Regions from separate parts of the Homo sapiens genome. Here region 1 is linked to region 2. Evidence: promoter capture Hi-C in human tissues and cell types (Jung and others, 2019). All regions are on one chromosome and are shown on one strand. The core of a region is centred on a gene start or on the middle of the fragment in contact, and the rest is flanking DNA. Distances in the headings are between cores, read along the strand shown.

Region 1 (2,798 bases), core at 294-2,793, 680 kb before region 2:
AGGGATCCTTGAGCCCCTCTTGGGCTCAAGTGATCTGCCTGCCTTGGCCTCCCAAAGTGCTGAGACCACAGGCATGAGCCACTGCACTTGGCTAGACATCACTTTTAGATCATGATGTACACCACCTGTCTCCTTTCCCTGGCCCATGGCAGACATTAGTAATCAAACACAATGCTTTTTTCCCCCACGGAGCTCTTTGCTCACCTTACCCGTCACCTGTCCAGACCTCATGGCTCCCCTGGCCAAGTGCTAGAAGAAACAGATCCTTGTAACTCCATCTTCCCTCCAAGTAAAACAGGACCTTTATATCTCCTCTCTCTTACCACCAGCCATGGCAGACAATGCCAATCAATTATGATGTGCTGCTCCTTTTCGTGATGGGTACTGCCTCTGCTCAACTCTGTGCCTACAACAAATGTTCCTGATCCATCACTATGCCCCTGACCCCTGGGATCTCTGAGCTCACTGGTGCCCTGCATGTCATGTTTCTACTGACCAAATTCTGGGAGTCTCCCCTTTGGGTAAAAACATAACACTCTTGCTACTCTTTCTTCTCCCTTGCCCATGACACACACTGCATGGAGATCATGACTGCTAACCGATCATGATGTGTGCCATCTTTCTCGTTTCCCTTAACCACAGCAGACATTGCTAATTGATCATGACTTGTGATGCCTTTTTTGCCATCCCTTGATGCTCCCTGCCCTAGGCAGACATTTCTAATCCATCACAATCCTCCTTTCCTCAGAGCCTGAGGAATACCTGTATCCTTCACCTAGCCAGATCTCATAGGTGAATGCTTGGAGGGAGGGAGCATTAACCTGTAGTGCTTCAGTCTACTCCTGAGCAAAAACAGGCCAATGGTGTTGCTTCTCTTCTTTCCCTGGCCCATGGCAAACTTCCTTATCCATGCCCGACTTCTTTGTCCATAGCCGACTTTGCTAACTAATCATGATGTGTGTCATCTTTCTCCTTTTCCTTAACCACACCAGACATTGCTAACTGATCATAACTTGTGATGCCTTTCTACTATCCCTTACTCAGAGCAGACACGGCTTATCAATCCTGATTTGTGCTATCTCTTTCCTCTCCCTTGCCCACTGCTAATCGATCATGACATGTTCCCACTCTCTCTCCTTTGCCCATGGCAGACAGTGCAAATCAATCACAGTGTGAACCATCTCGCCTCCATCCCTTGCCCACATCAGATAGTGCCAATTGATTCCAACGCCGTTTCCCACTGGGCCCAGGGCTCACCTGTGCCCTTCACCTGGAAGTCAGTGCGGCGCTGCAGCGTGGATGGCAGCTCATTCAGCCGTAGGCTCAGCTGCCGTTTGAAAGGCGAGTTCTTCTGGCTGAGTGCTGGGAACCCACGGAAGGAGCCCTGGCGAACCAGCTGCTCCAGGGGTGCATGGCGCCGGGGGATGGCGGCCGCAGTGGTGCCTGCAGCCACAGGGGTGCCTGCCTCACCCTTCTCACCAGGGGATGTGGTGGCTGGTGTCGGGGACACGTGCCCAGGCTGGGCAGGGCCAGGAGCCACAGTGGGGGCAGCTGCTGCCTCTGCTGGAGACATGGGGGAGATGGATGGTTAGATATCTCACCATGGCATGCAAGGCCTCTCCCACCTGGTTCTCTTGATCATTCTCCAAGGCTGCCTTCCTTGCCCAGTGAGTCCTGCCCTTAAGACAAGCTAGTCAAAGCCCTGAGATATCCCTCACCCCCACCCAAGTCATGATCCCCTTCCCCAGGAGGCTCTTGGAAAACCGTCCCCCAGGCTCACCCTCTGTGTCTCTCCAGCTTCCTGCCCCTTTCTGTCTTGCCCTGCTGCTCTCACCATTCTTCCCTCTAAGACCCTCTATCTCCCTTTTTGATCACTTAACAAACACTGATTTGGTGCTGGAACAACGTATCAGGCATTGTTCCAGATGCTTTTCAAGTATTCACTCATTCAATCCACACGACTACCCATGGGGTTGATATGATTCTCATTTTACAGATGTGGAAACTGAGACCCAGCAAAGGCCCAGTGTGATGTGCCCAAGTCCTACTGCTAGGAAGGGGCAGGCTGACTCTGGACCCCATGCTCCAAATGACTGCCCGCCCTGTCTCCCTCTGACCTGTCTCTCCATATCATGTTGTCTTTCTCTGTCACTGTCTGTTCCCCTCTGTCTCCCACCTCCCAGCCTTCTTCCCACCTCAAGTAGCTCCTCCCTTCCTCCAGTCATTCTAGACATGGCTTGGATGCTTCATCCTCTGAGAAGCTTTCCAGATTGTTCCAGGCTCTCAGCCTGGCTCCCTCCACTCTGAGACTGTTCTCTGTACTCTGGGAGGAAACCTGACCTCCCCACTCAGCAGGAGAGGCAGGCTCTTCAAGGGCAGGGCTGCCCTCACCCCTGCCAAACCACAAACACACATCTACCCTCCTACCAGGGCCTCCCCGAGCTGCAGCCTGAATGCCATGGAGATTAAACTCAGGCCCAGAGAGACCCTCCCATAAGGATGTCGCCCAGTGCTGCTTCTCCCATCGTGACACAATGGGGCACCCATGCAGGCCTGGCCCAAGGCAGTGGAAACAGCCCAGGACAGGTTGGAACCAGGAAACCTCCTCTGCCTCCACTCACTGTGTGACCTCAGGAAGTCCCCTCCCCTCTCTGGGCTCCAGTTTGCCAACTAGAAACCTGGGATAAACATCTCAGTGCTACCTCCCAAGCCTCTGAGAGGGTCAGTTTAGGTAGTGAATGTTAAATGTTTTGGAATCCAACAAAAGCATGCCTGGACACAGTGGTTCACGCCTGTAA
Region 2 (2,808 bases), core at 1-2,500:
CTGCCCCTCCGAGCTCACCGTTGTGGGTTTCCACCATTAGCACGCGGGTGACCTCCTTGGCGTAGTAGTCGGCCTCAGGCTCGGGCTCCGGTTCTGCACTCTCCCCGGCCACCCGGTCGCGGGTGCTGTTGTACAGGGCGAGCACGGCCTCGGGCAGCGGGCCGGGCGGCACCTCCCCCTGGCTCGGGGGGCTGGCGAGCCGCAGCTTGGACAGGATCTGGCCGCGGATGGCCTCGATGCGCTTCCGCTTCACCAGCTCCATGTCGATAGTCTTGCAGGTGGATAGTCCCGCGGCCGGCCGGCCAGGCGTCAGCACCAGTAGCCACAGCAGCGGTAGCAGCAGCGGCAGCAGCCGCAGCCCGGAGGGCGGCATGGGGGAGGCGGCGCCCCCCGGCACTGCCGAGAGCGCGAACAGGGCTGGTGTGGTGGGGAGGCCCCGCCCCTGCAGGGGCTGGGGGTCTCCCGGCAAAAGGTAGGAGGGCCTCGAGGGAAAGCTGAGGTCCTCAGGGAGAAGGGCGCAGTGGTGGAGGGGAGGCTTGGACCGGGGGTGTCTCAGTATCCCACGGAAATAACCTAGATGGGCGCGATCTGGTACCAGAAGGTGGGTGGTCTTGAATAGGGGATCTGTGGCAGGTCGGAGAGAGATCCGTCTCCTGGAGGAGAAAGGGTCTAGGATGCGCGGGGGCTCAGGAGACAGGCCGGGGATGAAGGCGGCGTGCAGGGGGTGCGCCCGAGGTCTGGGGAAAAGTCTTTGCGGGAGGCCGGGTCGGCGACTCCCGAGGGCTGGTCCGGAATGGGGGCGCCTGAGGGACGCCGTGTAGGGGGCAGGGAGGGAGCAAGCGTCCCCGGCGGCAAAGGGAGGCGGTCTGGGGTCCCCAAGTCCTGCCTCCTCGCGGGGCAGCGTCGCGCCAAGAGGTCCCCGCGCCTCCGGCTCCCAGCGGCAACGGAAAAGTCTCAAAAGTTTTTTTCCTCTTCTCCCGACCAGCTCGTCCCTCCTCCCGCTCCTCCTCCCCCTCCTCCCCGCAGTGGCGGGGGCGGCGGCGGCTCGTCTCAGACTCTGGGGCCTCAGGCTGCTCCTCGGCGACTCCTTCCTCCGCTCCGGGCCGAGGCCGGCCCCGCGGGCGGCTCAGAGCCGGGGGGGTGCCCCGGACGGGGCGTCCCCCCTGCCCCCGGCCGGGGCCCTCGCTGTCTGGCTGCTCCGCGGAGGGAGGTGGGAGGGAGATGGCCCAGGGCGCGAAGGGCGGCGGCGGCGGGGACCGGCTGGGTCGGCAGGGGGTTTTGAAGCCGCCCCCGGCCCCACCCAGGAAGCGCACGGGGCGGGAGCGGGGGCGGCCCCCAGGGGGAGGGCATGGGGGGGCTGGGCCACCGTCCTCATCTCGCGTGGGCGGGCTCCGAGGGGGGTCCCTTCAGCCCTGGGGGAAAGGGGGCGGGCACCCCGGCTCCGCCCCGCAAACAGGGTGCTGCCTCCTGGCGGCCAAGCGCCACCAAAGCGGGTGATCCAGATGCGCTGTGGCTTTGCGGGCGGTGTGGGTCACCAGAGAAAGAGGACCAGGCGGAGAAGGCTTAATCCGGGGGATGAGACACAGGGGAGCCGACCAGAGGAGGGGGACCCAGAACGGAAGGAGAGTCAGGCTGGGAAACAAGGTAGGAGAAGAGGGTCTGTCAACATGGGGGCCTCCGGAGGGTGTCAGTGGGAGGAGGGGGCAACAGGACACCTGAAGGATGGAAGGGTCAGGAGGCAGACACCTGTAAGAATTGCTCTCCTTTACTGAGCACCTCCCATGTGGCTAAGCAGCCTCCTGTCACTCAACACCCTGCGACCCCATACATTTACTGTCCCCAATTTACAGATAGGGAAACTGGGCCCAGAGGGACCCCGAGGTCCTAGAAAGGACAGAAGCGGTGCCATGCCTTAGCTGGGGTCAGCTCTGACAGTCTCTAGAGTCTGTGCTCTTGACCACTGTGCCATCCTCCCCCATCACTGGGTGTCCGGGGTGTGGATGGTGGTGACGTTGGAGGCAGAGTCCCTCAGCACTCCACGCCGTAGCGGTCGAAGTTGCGGAGCAGCAGGCCGATCTCCAGGTGCACGGTGCCACCAGCAGCTGTGTGCAGGCGATAGCGGTCGGCCCCACTGTAGATGGTGTCCCCATGCAGCAGCTGCGGCCCACCACCCACGAAAGCCCGTGCCAACTGTTCTCGCCAACTGCCCAGGGGCCGCCACGTGGGGCAGGCCAGCTGGTGGGTGCCCGGGCTACTGGGCACATGGCAAAATCCATAGCCTGCAAGCTGGCAGCGGCCAAAGCTGTCCTGGGACCACACCTGGAAATGGAGCCGGGGCCAGCCTGCAGGAAAGGAGAGAGAGGGGAAAGGAGGGATGGGTGGGGACCAGACTCCTGCTGATTCCCCACTCCCTGATACTCACTGGAGACCCCAGGCCCAGTCTTTTCCTCTCTGGGTTTCTGTCCCAGAGTTTCCAACCCAGCCTCCTTTCTAGGCTCCCACCGTCTTATCTATCCCCACACAGCAGCCAAAGTGATCTTTCCAAATCCATGTTACTCCCCTGCTAAGGATCCTTCCATAGCTCCCCAGTGCCCTCAGTATAAAGTCCAACCTCTTCAACATTCAAGGCCCTTCTAATCAGACCTCTGCTGAATTTCCTCTCTGTGTTATCCTCCTCCATGACCCCATGTCAGGGCAGCCCATTGCTCCTCCAGTCCCCAGGTAACCATCATGGGCCTTGTCAGGGACACCTCCTGCCTTCCCTCATGTCCCTGCCCTGCTCTCTTTGGGCCCAGGGCCTTCTTTCTT

Evidence for each region. The method cuts DNA at HindIII sites, captures the fragments that hold promoters and counts their contacts. A contact is called where the count stands out against the background at its distance.
Region 1: a contact is called between a fragment that was not itself captured here and the fragment with the promoter of TGFB1 in region 2, in 1 of the 25 tissues and cell types used here (lymphoblastoid cells).

Annotation. Positions count from the first base shown.
Region 1 is chr19:40,672,087-40,674,884 of GRCh38, forward strand. It overlaps NUMBL (NUMB like endocytic adaptor protein), which reads right to left. Exons shown (of 10, transcript NM_004756.5): 8 at 1,258-1,563. Among named protein-coding and RNA genes, the nearest start is that of NUMBL, 17 kb to the right of the region's middle. The HindIII fragment of the contact is 7,936 bases long and covers 1-2,798 here.
Region 2 is chr19:41,352,672-41,355,479 of GRCh38, forward strand. It overlaps TGFB1 (transforming growth factor beta 1), which reads right to left and starts at 1,251. Exons shown (of 7, transcript NM_000660.7): 1 at 19-1,251. The coding sequence starts at 373. B9D2 (B9 domain containing 2) reads right to left here. Exons shown (of 4, transcript NM_030578.4): 4 at 1,746-2,342. The coding sequence ends at 2,029. RefSeq lists silencers at 1-263, 424-503, 804-873, 1,024-1,553 and enhancers at 1,554-1,703, 1,627-2,128. The HindIII fragment of the contact is 14,181 bases long and covers 1-2,808 here.